2 separate regions of the Homo sapiens genome follow, and region 1 is linked to region 2. The links are contacts of gene promoters, found by promoter capture Hi-C in blood cells and fetal thymus (Javierre and others, 2016). All regions are on one chromosome and are shown on one strand. The core of a region is centred on a gene start or on the middle of the fragment in contact, and the rest is flanking DNA. Distances in the headings are between cores, read along the strand shown.

Evidence for each region. Contacts are between HindIII fragments. The CHiCAGO score rates a contact against its expected background, and 5 or more counts as called.
Region 1: a fragment that was not itself captured here is called in contact with the fragment with the promoter of MNX1-AS2 in region 2 in 2 of 17 cell types (total B cells and naive B cells); the score reaches 16.7 in total B cells.

The regions. Positions count from the first base shown.
Region 1 is chr7:155,377,556-155,384,309 of GRCh38, forward strand. LINC03010 (long intergenic non-protein coding RNA 3010) reads left to right here and starts at 4,521. Exons shown (of 3, transcript NR_147174.1): 1 at 4,521-4,760. RefSeq lists enhancers at 531-1,031, 3,767-4,578, 4,579-5,390. The HindIII fragment of the contact is 1,408 bases long and covers 2,177-3,584 here.
Region 2 is chr7:157,001,466-157,007,712 of GRCh38, forward strand. It overlaps MNX1-AS2 (MNX1 antisense RNA 2), which reads left to right and starts at 4,842. Exons shown (of 2, transcript NR_147077.1): 1 at 4,842-4,959; 2 at 5,412-5,655. MNX1 (motor neuron and pancreas homeobox 1) reads right to left here. Exons shown (of 3, transcript NM_005515.4): 2 at 5,014-5,174; 3 at 3,389-4,408. The coding sequence ends at 4,055. RefSeq lists enhancers at 1,393-2,099, 3,816-4,468 and a silencer at 4,237-4,431. The HindIII fragment of the contact is 8,591 bases long and covers 3,031-6,247 here.

The DNA of each region.
Region 1 (6,754 bases), core at 1,631-4,130, 1.6 Mb before region 2:
ATTGCAGGTGGATTTGATCTGATTTCCCCTGAACAGGCTGGCGGTGGGAAGCAGGCATTGGAGTCCCACGGCTCACTGGACTGCAGCAGCGAGCCCTTCACGGTTGCAAAGGAAGGAAATTCCTAGCGGGGCAACTCTTCAGCGTCCGCCCCACAGACCTAGCACGATGTCCTTTTCTGTCTCAAGATACATCTGGCTGGGCTTCCCTAAAACCGGGCTTAGTTGGACTCCTTGGACCTGGGGATGAATTCTTGCCAACTATCTCCAAATATTTCCCCTACACCATGCCAGTGCAATTCATGTCTCCAAACCCCCTCTCCTCCACAAAAACGAAACAAAACAAAACCCCAGGTCCAGGAGCTCAGGCCCAGGCCGGATCCAAGACGCGGCAGCCAGGCAGCCCCGCCGCGAGCCTGTGCGGGCTTGAGCCGGCTTGGCCCCCGGAAGCCCCAGCCCCGCGCTCGGCAGCGTGCGCCCAGCGCCCAGAAGAAGCAGCTCCAGGCGGCCGCGCTCCCCGTCCCGCCGCGGTGCGGTCGGATGCCCAGCTCGCGTCCAGACCCGCGGGATGCAGACCCGGATCAGTCAGGCTTGAGGGCTGCTCCGCATAGACCAACGTCCGGGGAAGGCACACAGTGGCCGAGGGCCCGCGCGCTTGGGCTACGGCTGTGATGGTATCTGCGCTGCTTGCGCCTTGGGGATGGGAGGCCGCCTTTGCTGACTGAAGGGCCTGAAGAGGAGGCTTCTGGGGTCCCTGTAGCCTCACCCTGGATTCACAAAATCAAACACTATCTCCTTTCCCCTTCACCACCCCCACCCCACGAATACACATGGTGAAGAGAGGTTCACTTCTGTTCCTGTTGCTGAGTTTCAGCTATGCCCCTCGGCCTCGGAGGATGGCTCACCTTTACTGTGAATTTCTAGCTGAAAGAACAATGCTGAGAACAGGGATAACAAGAGGACCTCTCTAACAAATGCATCTGCTAGTTACAAAAGGGCTGGGAAGAACGGCTCAGGGACATTCCTCCCAGACCCAAGGAAAGGGAATGGAGACACATTTTGATGTTTTCTACATACTTGGTCAACTTGCAGCTACTATAGAACCCGCTCCCCACGGCCAGCTCTTCCTCCTGTTTTAGGGAGAATTTTGTTCAACATTCTACATTCTAGGGACCCTTCCTCATCAGATTAAGTGCAGAGTTACAGCAAAATAAGTCAGAGGAGAAGGATGGGGTAGAGATGGAGCGGAAGCTGGCGCTGGAGCCACTGTGTCCTGCCGGCTGCACCTGCACTCAATCTCAGGTACCATGCTGGACAGTGGGGAAAACAAAAACCTGGAGAACAGCCCAGAAAACTCCGCCAAGGTTTTATAGCTTAAAGATGGGGAGAGGAGGAGGCAGGAAGGGTTGGGCTCTGCAGGCCTTTAGAACGATCGGAGGTCTAATGAAAATAAATACCTTGTAAACATGTGGGTACCAAGTAACCAGAAGAGAGCTTAGACCAAGAAGGTCGGGGGGTCTTTTCCCACCTGTGAGAAAATAAGAGATCCTGGAGCTCTGCAGCCTTAGCAATGAACTGGATTACTGATTAGTGTTTAGAGGCACCCATGCATGAGTTGGCAAACCAAGCCATTGAAATGTGGAATCAGCAGGATCTGGCTTTTTGAATGTCCATTACTTCTCATGTACATGCATATCTATGTTAAATATGGAAAAGAAGAAAAAATTTAAAAGAGAAACAGAACCCTGCTTTACCAGATTAATCAAAATGGAATGATAGATTCTTGAGTTTGAAATAACCCCCGCCCCAGGAATTCTCCAGCGTCTCTGCAAGAAGCTCTCAGACAGACAGCAGTTAAACAAGGTCGGCAAAACCGACTCTCAGATTCAACAAACTGCTCTTTCTGTTTCTGCAACAGGAAGAAAACATTCCACGAGCTGATGGAAGCCCTCACAGACATACATCTGTTATGGCTTTCCCAGAATCCTGACCCCTGGACAATTCTTTTGGGAACACCCTTCTCTATCTAAGGAAAATGACATTCCTAAACCCTGCCCTGCCACCTCACATATGCAGAGTCTGAAAGGGAAGCCAAAACCCCTTGGTCATCCTCACTCTCAGCCCTCTGCCCAAAAGGGGGAACTTTGATCAAATGCAACTTTCTTCTCCTTTGGCCCCAAGCTTCTGTGCCCTCAGTTCACACTCACCCAGAATGCAAAAGCATTTGGATTCAGTGCTGTCCCCTCTGGCTTTCTGTCTGTCATTTGGCCTGGAAAGGACGGTCAGAAATGCCATGGACAGTTACAATTCGACTCAGTAACTTCCACATGGCTCATGAATGTCCTTGGCCACCCGGGAACTGCAGCCCTCTGCCCCCCAAGTTAATTGCTAAATGATTTGCAAACTTAAACAATTATACATTCTCTCTTGACTTGCCCCGAAGAAATCATGTTAATTTATGACACACTCACATGATCCTGATTAACAAACCTAGACTAAATTTGCATGTGGCAAAATGCAATACAGATATATATTTTAAAAAATAATATAAGCAGGTTTTTGCCAACTCTTTTCTCCCACGGTTTAATGACCTACCATCCTGGTTCATACGTTTTTTAACACCTGACTTTGGATATTTTTTTAAAATGAATCGATTTGTAGTCATTGCCTGGCTGCCTGTGGGGAAGGAGCTCCTGCCGTTGGCAGACACCTCTGCAGCCAGGCGTGGGGTGTCCTTCCATCAAAGCAACGCCAGGGGGCAAGAAGCGTTAACAAAGCCCGGGACGCTCCGCACTCTCCCTTTATCTACCCGTGTGTGCGTGTCACACTTTCCAGGGCGAAATGTCATTTTGCAAGGTTATACATTTCCAATTCCTCATAGAGCCTTATCGCTCATCATTTACCTCTTGGGCACAAACAAACAGCCTCTTTAAATAAAGCCAGGGAAGGGAAGCATATACCTTTGTACAATTAAAAATAGCACAAGAATGCCAAAATGTATTGGACCTTGCTGTTAATCCGACTTACCTGGCTGACACTCTGGCCTAATCCTATTTTCTCCTCGCATTAGAATGACTCTACAAGGCTACGTTTTGTTCTTCGGGAGCACAGTTTACCTGGCCAGTGGGCTGAGGATCAGAGAAGCCTCACCACCTAAGGTGGGGAGAGGGGCTGCAGACTGCCCAGCCTGGCCCCAGCCTGCTGGAGGTCCCAGTGCAGAGCCTGCTTGGCGAGACAGAAAGCAAACGAAATCACTCAAGGGAAACTTCGCTGGAGACAAAACACATTCAATTTCCTGAGGATTCTGCTTTCTCTCAGGAATTATTTGCTTTTGCCGAGGCACATTAAACAAATTAAACACTAAAAATGGAAGCTCCTTTGCTTCCTGGCTCAGAAAATAGTTTTTTTTTTAAAGGATATAGTACGAACAGTAATACAAATGAAAGAAAACAGTAACACTCTAGCTCTTTAAAATAAACTCATGTGGGCACCTAAAGTCCTTTTTGGCAAATTCTTATCTTGTGGGGCAGTGCAGACAATGGGAGCTTGTGCTAAACGGCTGCTGTCACTCTGCTGACATTCCAGGAAGCTTCCACGCAGCTACTTGGGCATCTTTTCACACCTTCACCTTCCAAACCGCAGTCCCTGGTGATCCTGACTTTTGCAGCCTGGCTCTGGGTCCACACGGGGCTGGAGAAGGGGATTCGGTCTGAATGGGTTCGTGGAGGGTGGGGCAGGGGGCTGAGCTGAGGAACGCGCTGGCGAGGGAGTCAGATACTGTTACTTCGTATTTTAGGAATGTATTTCTCCTGCACACCCCTCCCTCCCCTGCCCACCCCCCTCTCCCAGTATCATTGCTCTTTGAAATGTCATGAACTTGGCGCTTTCAGACCAAACCGCCGGGCTCAGGCCCGAGACAATGGGATTGTCAGAGGGCCAGCGCGGAGCTTTTTCTGCGTGTTCACGGAGCGTTAAGCCTTTATCCCACAGAACGGCTCTGTCTGACCGGGTCAGACAAAAGCCAACTTGCATCTTCCGCTCCGAGGGGATCTGGGCAGAGCCCGGGTACAGCCCTGCGCGGCCCCAGGGAGAGGGGGGAGAGGGCGCGTGTCCCCAGCCCTGCCAAGTGGCGTGGGGAGCGCGAGGCCCTCCTCGGTCAGAGCCACCAACTCTGGTCTCCGTGGACATCCCCCTTCCCCCGCCCGCTCCCGAGGCTCTAGGGCGGCCTCCTGGCCGCTGCCTTCTCGCACCCAGGGTCTTCGGCCTGGGCTCCACACCTCAGGCCCCTCAAGTAATCGGCCTCTTGGTGGCCGGGCACTGCCTTTCCGGCTGCTCTCTGCACCCGTCTGCCCCTCCGGCCTCCCCTGGCGGCTACAGGCGTCCGGGGCCCTCGCTCCCCAGCTCCAGGCGTCCCGGGAGCCAGGCGCGCAGCGGGGCGAGTTCTCGTGTCCGTGTGAGCGCGGGCGTGTGTATGCGTGCGCGTGCACGAGCGTGAGTGTGCGTGAGCGTGAGTTTGAGTGTGCATGCGGGTGTGAATGTGTACATGTACACGAATGTGAGTGTGAGTGTGCATGAGCGTGAGCGTGCGTGTGCGTGCGAGTGTGCACGAGCGTGACTGTGAGTGTGCGTGCGTGGAAGCGCGGCGGGGAGCCTGGCTGAAGGCCTGCTGCCTGCATGGCTGTCAGAGAAAAACAGAAGTGGGAGCCTGCTGCGGGCTCCGAGAGGACTTGATGGGAGCCCTGGCGCGCGCTGGGCACCGCGCGGTGAGTGTCGGGGGTGGGGGCCGCGGGTCTCCAGCAGCCCCTGCCCTGTGCGGACCGCCGCCCCGAGGGTCCCTGCTTGCGGGTCCGGGGCTGGGCGTGCCTGGCTCCCCCTTGCCCCCTGCTCCACCGGCAGGATTCAAGGGACGAGAGCTCTGGGCTGCGGAGAGTTGCCCTGGCTGGCCCCGTCCTGCAGCAAAGGGCGGGCGGCGCGAGTGGAGTGTGCGGGGCAGGCTGGGCGGCAGAGGGAGCCCAGGGGAGCCCATGGCATGGCACCGCCAGTGTGGGCTTATGAGGAGGTGCAGGCCGGGACCTCAGGCTGTGGGCAGGACCGCAGGCAGCGGCTGGCAGGCTCCAGGCAGGCTCTGGAGGACCCGGGATTTAGGTATTTATGCAGTGAGAAGGCAGGGGTTTGGGTGTTCTTTCTCCCCTCTTCCTCCTTGGAATTCAATTTCTTCGAAGGGCAGGGGGCAGGCCGGGAGGGAGGGACAGAGAAAGAGGCCGCGAGCCACAAATGCCGCCCCCCATCTGTTCAGTAGGGCTCACTTCCTGAGGCAGGGGTCCCTAGCACAGGGTCTGGGGAAGGCAAGGTGGGGGGTATAGGCTACCCAGATAAGGAGGGACTTGCTAGGTAGTGGCCCTGGGTCTTGAGGGGCTGGTTCCATCCCGATTGGTCCCCTGGTGCCTGGAGGGCTGTGGAGGGTCCCAGGCCTAGAGTTGGGGGCTGAGTGGGAGGACGGGCCTCACAACCTGGGATTTCTTTCCAGCTTCTGGGTCTGGATCTGGGCCTCCAGTCCCCAGCTGTGAAGCAGGAAGGGAGGGAGGGAGCCTTTCTGAGACCCTCCAGCCTCTACCCTGCAGGAAGAGGTGGATGTAACCTTGAGCATAACCTTGAGCAAGTCTTCCCAGCTTTTTAGGCCTCCACTTCCTCACCTGTAAAAGGAGCTGATGGGGGTAGACCATGTCGAATGTTACTTCTGGCTGAAACATTTTTTGTTGTGTTTTGTTTTAATTTGTGCAGAGTTGGACCTACTCTCTCATGGTGCAAATTTATTTCATTTCAGTTTCCGAGGCCAGGCATAGAATCCCTGTATATTCCCAGGGACAGTGACGCCTTATGCAGAGGATGGGCAACATAGAAAATAACCCTACCTGGGGGCACAGACAACTTATTCTTTAAAATGACCAAATGAAGCTAAATTGAAACAAAATTTTTTTTAAGTGAAATGAAACCAGTGATGCTGAGACTGAGTTGGCAGGCTGGGGAGGAAGACCTGGAAGCGTGTGTGGGCTCTCTGGGGAGTGCTCCTGGCTGGGTGCGGTCTCGGGTGGCCAGGCTGGGCAGAGGCGTTTCAGGATTTGATGGGAATCTTTGGCCTTGAGCTGTCTCCCCTACCTGCAAAGGCCAAGGCCTTCCCTCCACTGGCTGAAGTTGGTTGGGCTCTGCCCATCCATCCGAGCCTGCAAATTACTCACGGGGGGCTGCTAGTGCTGCCTGTGCAGGCTGGGGCCAGATGGGAACACTTTGTGGGGGCTGGCCAGCCTGGGACAGCAAGCAGCTGCTAGATTATTCCAACCCCTTTCTGTGTTCTTCACACCAGCAGGGGCTGGGGAGGCCGAGAGCCACAGCACAGCTTCAGAGAGGCCCCTTGGAGGTGTTCACAAACCCCCTGCTTCCCAGGAGGGGCACCCAGGTGTAGTTCCAGCCTAGCCTCTTTTCCCACGCCCGCCTTCTCTGGGGGGTGTCTCTGGGGGGTGTCTGGTCTGCGGAGCAGGGTCCAGACTTGCTTGTCTCCACGCTTCTCAACGCCTCCCCTCCACTGCCTCCTGCCTGGCTTCTCAGCAGCGGTGGGTGCTGGAGGTGGACTGGGTCATCTCCCCAGCCTCCCCAGCCTCCCCAGTCCTGCTCACCTGTTGGGGAATCACTGCCTGATTGTCACTTTACCCCTCTGCATCAGCTTCCCGGCATTGCCTTAGCGAAGTGCCACAAACCGGGG
Region 2 (6,247 bases), core at 3,592-6,091:
CTGCTGGATCGTATGGTAATTTGACTTTTTTTTTTTTTTTTTTTTTTTTTTTGAGCCCTGTCGCCCAGGCTGGAGTGCAATGGCACGTTCTCGGCTCACTGCAACCTTCGCCTCCAGGGTTCAAGCACTTCTCTGCCCCAGCTCCCAAGTAGCTGCTACTACAGGCGCCCGCCATCACGCCCGGCTAATTTTTTGTATTTTTAGTAGAGACGGGGTTTCACCACCTTGGCCAGGCTGGTCTTGAACTCCTGACCTCGTGATCCACCCGCCTTGGCCTCCCAAAGCTCTGGGATTACAGGCGTAAGCCACTGCGCCCAGCCTGATTTTTAATTTTTTGAGGGAAATTCTGTACTATTTTACATAATGGCTATGCCATGTTACATTCTGACCACAGCTGCAATTTCTCCACATTCTCACCAACACTTGCTATTTTCTGTGCTTTTTGTTTGTTTTATATTGGCCATCTTAGCAGGTGTGAGGTGGATCTGTGGCTCTGATTTGCATTTCCCTGATGCTTATTGGTGTTGAGCATCTTTTCATATGTGTGTTGCCGTTTCAAAATTTTATTTGGAGTCATATCTATTCAAGTCATTTGCCCATTTAATTTGGTTTTGTTGTAGAGTGCTGAGAGTTACATAATCTGAACATTAACCCATTCCCTGATTCGCGTGTTGCAGATGATATCTCCCATCCCCAGGTTGCCTTTCACTCTTGTTGATCGTCCTTTGTGGCGCGTACGTTTTTCAGTTTGATGCAGTCCCATTTGTCTATTTTTGCTTTGGTTGCCTTGTGTTCAGTATCAAAGAAGGAAAGTCACCGGATGAGGGAAGGGACAGGTCCACCTCCTCTCCCTTCGAGCTGTTTCTTTACTCCCTGACACCAGGGATTAACCGGGGTCTCCTGGCTGCCTCTCACCTGGCAGCCGGAGCTCCAGGAGGGGCTGGAAAGGAGCCCCCTGGGCCTCCGTCTGGGGGGCGTGTGTGAACTGTTTTCTCCCGTCACAAAAAAGGCTTCCTCCACATGCGTTTGCACGCCCGGCAGAATTCGCCCACAGCAAGGCCCCCCTTTCTAAGAAGGGAGGAGAACCCACATTGGAGCAAAGAAAACGGTGGCCAAGAGGTGGGGGCCTCGGTAGGGCAAGGAGGCAAGGCTGGGTTCCAGGGGACAGGGTCAGCTTTGGGTGGGGCCCAGAGCCCCGGGTCGCAGTGACGGCCGCCGCAGGGGTCTCCCCCCGCGTACCTTCGCTTCTGTTGAAGGCAGTGAGATCCGCAGGCCTCCGGGACAGCTAGAGGACAGCAGACATGTCCCGTGGGGGAAGCCTGGGCCTGTCTGAAAACACCGCCTCAGCTCCCTCCGGGGTCCCCCTGCGTAGACCTGGCTTCAGGTCCGGAGAACCGGATTCTTGAGGGCTGCAAAGACTTTCTCCCCCATGCGCGGGGTCAGCTGGCGGCTCAGGTGCGATTGGAGGCCTGGGCCCCGAGGGACCACCGCCCCAGGCCGAGCCGAGTCAGCGACCCCGAGCGCGGCGCCCAGGGGTGGGGGTCGCGCCCGCAAGGCGGGCAGAGCCGGGCCTCGAGACCGTTCATTAGGCAGAATGAATTGTTCACCGTGCCCGGAGTGGATGAGGACGAGCCAGTGATTATATTTAAATTTGCTATAATTGATTTGGGGAAGAGCTACTGTGACAAGAACGAATTGATCATTAAATTTATTAGCGAGATAAATTCCGCGGCGACTGAGCGGCCTGCTGGAGGCGCAGGGGCCGGCGCAGGTCCGGGGCCTGGCTCTGCTGGAGGACGGGGGAGGGGCGGCCCTATTAACAGCGTCTTCCTTTGATGTCGCTCTTCCCCGCGTCCCAGAGGAAGCGCCTGTCCCCTGGGGGTAGAGGGACAGACCCTCCGCGGAGGCCTGGGGCACCCCAGCTCCAGGCCGAGCCCCCACTCTTCCCTGGCTGCCCAGTGTTGGTGAGGGCGCTGAGGCTGGGCCGGCTGAGCCCAAGGGGAAAATAATCCCCAGATGTGGGGCCAGCCAGGGGAGAGATTGCTGCAGGCTGAACCTCACCAATGTGTTAGAAATTAAAAAGAAATGTAGGGATTGCAGATTAAAAAAAAAAAAAAAAAAAAAAAAAAAAGCATCTGTCTTCCCCCCTTCCCTCTGGTTTTCCCACCCTCTTCCTCTGGGCACTCTGCCTCCTCCACCAGTGGCAAACCCTCTCCCAGTTCCCCTAAACACCTTTGGACCCCAGGCGGCGGAGGCCCGGCCCCTGCGCCAGCGCCCAGCAGCTGCTTCTGCCCGGACTCCCAGCAGCCGCGCCCCGGCCTTGGATGAGGTTGATTTTATGGAAGGGGCCCGGGGTGATAATGAGTTGCCAGAGAGGATATTAATCTCCCCGCGCCCTGAGGCAGAGGAGTGGCTGCGCTCGCCCCGCGGTAATCACCCAAATGAAACGCCAGGCCCTTCTGAACTCATTTTATCCGCTGGGAGGAGGGGAGGGGAGGAGGGAGGAGAAGGGCACACGCAGGTGCTGCTGAGAAAGTGACAAACAGAAGGAAGGAGGAAGGCCCGGGAGAAGGGATAGGAGCGGCGTCCCCGTCGCCCGTCTCCTCCGGGGCCAGGAGAGGCCACTGGGTCATCGATGGGGGAAGGGGGCCGGGAGTCGCGCCGGGCTGGGTGGGCCGCGGGCCTGCGCTCCTGGGCGGACGAGAGCGCGGGCTGAGCCCGCATGTGTGCAGCACATGGCGCTGGGCCTGGCTGCGGTGATTGATGGCGCGCGCTGCAGAGGCTGATTAACCCGGAGCCGCTGCAGCCGCGGTGTGGAGCGCTGCTGCAGTCCGCCGCTGTCCTCGCGGACTTGTTTGCACAGAGCCAAGAAGACCGATCCTGGCCAGCCAAGGAAGGTTCTGCTAACAGAGAGGGCCGGGGTCGAGGAGAGAGAGAAGCACCGCGCAATTCGGTGCGTTCCGGGAAATGTGCCTCAGTAGCGCCTGAGGTCACAGGGACCCCACATGCTACTAACGCCTAGTCGTTTTAAGCTTATTTTCTGAAACGTCCAAATAGCGTATTTCCACTTCTGGAGTGCCAACGAAGCAACAGCTAGCAAGGAAATAGGAAAATAAATAGAGTCCACAGCTCCGCTTCCGAGGGACACGTGTCCCGGGACAGGTGTGCACCAGGCAGCCGGGCATGCGCTGACACCTGGCCACAGGTATTTTTGCCAACACTTCACATTGCGACTCCCCAGTAGCAGGCGCGGAGGTGGTCCTGACACCCACTTGAGACTCCGATTTTCACCCTCAGCTGCCAACCGCCGAGTAGACACCCTCCCCATCATTTCTACAAGCAAATTGTAATGCCGCGGGCATAATCCCCCAAAACTCGTGCACGCTGATCCAGTACAAAACCAATTTATTTTACATTCCATCGTGGGCGATGGGAGAAGCTAAATAATAATTTAGCATGCATACGTAGACGTTTCTTTTTATATATAAATACAATATACAAAAATAAAGACAGTACAGTTTTGAGATTTCCAGCAGTTTGAACGCTCGTGACATAATCCCCCCGACCCCAGAGACGTAAGCATAAACCCTTTTTTCTTTTTCCAAATACTCTGCAGAATGGCGGCTCCAGAGGCGGTTTCAAGTTTCATAAGTCAGGTAACACTGTGGGTTTCCGCCTTCTCGGACGCGGGGAAAGGGGAGACAGGAGGCTTCCCCTTGCGCGGGGTGGGTCGGTTCTTCTCACACGCACTCGCGCCTCCCCCAACACCAACCAAAATTAATTTTAAAAGAACCAGAGTTCAAGTTTCAGCCCCCTGGGTCTCCCTCTCGCTGTTTCTTGAAGAGCAGGTGAGGCGCCCTTGCTTAAAAGGGAAGCGCCCAGGACCGGAGCCGCGGCCGAATCCCTCCAGCCCCGGCCTGGGCGAGGGGTCCATGGGGCGGCGGTCGAGCCTGCTCTCGGGGCCGGGCCGGGTGGGTGCGGGCGCCGGGGCCTCCGGGAGAAGCCGCCGGCCGGGGCGCTCCGTGCGCGCCGCACCTGCTGGGCCGCGGGGCTCCTACTGGGGCGCGGGCTGGTGGCTGGGCCGCGGGGGCGGCGAGTCGTCCTCCGAGGAGCAGTCGGAGGAGGCGGCGTGGACGCTGGCGCCGTTGCTGTAGGGGAAATGGTCCTCGTCGTCCTCGTCCTCGTCCTCCTCGGGGTCACTGTCCCTCAAGTCCCGCAGGCGGCGTCCGCTGCCCTTGTCTCCGGGCGCTGGCGGCCCCAGCAGCTCCTCGGCTCCCGGCTCCTCCGCGCCGCCCTTCCCCGCGCCCCCGCCGCCGCCCTTCTGTTTCTCCGCTTCCTGCGCCGCCTGCTCTTTGGCCTTTTTGCTGCGTTTCCATTTCATCCGCCGGTTCTGGAACCAAATCTTCACCTGCGGGCACAAGCGGGCGTGAGAAACCGGCCACCGCCACCCCAGGGCTTCCTGTCCCCGGAGTCCCCCGGCCGCGTGCGCCTGGGCCCCATTGGGTCGGCCCTGGAATGGCCTCAGGGTGAGACGACTTAGAAGCAGAATGGGGAGGGGGCTCGTAGCTTCCTCCTCCCCGCAACCCCCCACTCAGCAGCAAACCCCAGAGCTGGGCTGGAGCTCCGTGGGAGCTAGGACTATGTCCCCAACGACCCAGGCCGGGGACTTTTCTACCCGCGCCCTCCGTCTGCGGAGGAAGGGTCAGGGCAGCTGGCTACGTCGCGGTAAATCTCAGGATGTTCCCTCCTCTCTTTCTGGAACAAAATTTCTCGAATGCGGCCTGGGGATCACCTTCTTCAGAATGAAAGGAGGGGTGGTTAAGTGCTGATTCTTGGGCCCCACCCGAAGCTACTGAATCGGCGCTCTGGGCACCTTAGATGAACCCGTGCGCCCGCCGTCTGAACCGTCGAGGCGCAGCGCTAGATGCCTCAGACCGCCCGTGGGTCACAAGTGCAAAGGTAACAGTGTCCCCTGGGAGGCCGGGATGCGTCGGGGGCGGGGAGGGCGCGCACCTGGGTCTCGGTGAGCATGAGCGAGGTGGCCACCTCGAAGCGCTTGGGCCGCGACAGGTACTTGTTGAGCTTGAACTGGTGCTCCAGCTCCAGCAGCTGCTGGCTGGTGAAGGCGGTGCGCGGCCGGCGGCACTTCCCCAGGAGGTTCGACTGCGCCTGGGCTGGGGACCAAAGGGCAGTGAGGCCCACAGCCGGCTCCGGTCCTCGCCCCAGCCCCTCCCGTTGCTGCTTGTACCACTACACTCAAGGCCCCAGCGCCAAGGCCTGGCCCTGCAGAGGGCGGGGCTGTTCCCTCACTATCAGTGCCCACTCCCCAAGGAATGCGGACTCAGGACCACCAAGTGGAAATGGATAGTTTGGAGTTAATGAGACCAATTTTTTTTTTTTTTTTTGTCTAGGAGACGTCTGAGTGTCCCTGTTAAACAGGGCCCATCGCAGGAGGCTTCCTCTCCACAGGAGCCGGCTTTGGTAGCAGTGGATTGACCCAGAGGCAAGAGGAGAACTGAGGCCAGTCGGGGGCCAGGAAGGGAGGTTCCGGGAAGCCCAGGAGTTGAAGGCTGCAGTGAGCGAGACTGCACCCCTGCACTGTACCCTGGGTGACACAGCAAGACCCCATCTCTCAATAAATAAAAAATAATAAAATAATAAAATAAAGGAGCAGTGAGTGATGAGAACCAAATCTCTCCCCCTCTCCTCACTGCGCCTTCCTAGAGATTCAGGCTCAGATCCAAACAGGTCTGGGAAGAGCTGGTCCTGCTGTTCCAGGTCTCCCTGCACTGCCTCCTTAAGACAGAAAAGGAGGAGGAGGAGGAGAAAAAGAGGAAGGAAGGAAGGGAGAGAGGGAAAGAGGGAGGGAGGAAGGAAAGAAGGAAAGAAGGAAGGAAGGAAGGAAGGAAGGGAGGAAGGGAAGGGAGAGAGGACAGGTGGAACAGGACCAAACCCAGGGTCCAAGTCTGTGTATTCACCAGGGACCCTCCCACCTTCCAAATGTTTTCCTTGGCATGCCCCCTCCTCAGGGTGCGGGCGGCAGGGGCAAGGCCTGAGGAGACTAGAAGCCTTTTCAGGACAATTCTCATTACGCAAATTACAGGCAGAGGCGCAGGCAGGATCCGGTTCTCTGTGTGTTCAAGGAGGCCTGCCCGGCTTTATTTACATAATTTCGCACGGTTACATCACAGAGAATTTTATGACCTCAAAACGAGACTTCCCTTGATTTCCCAGGAGCCTGACAAGT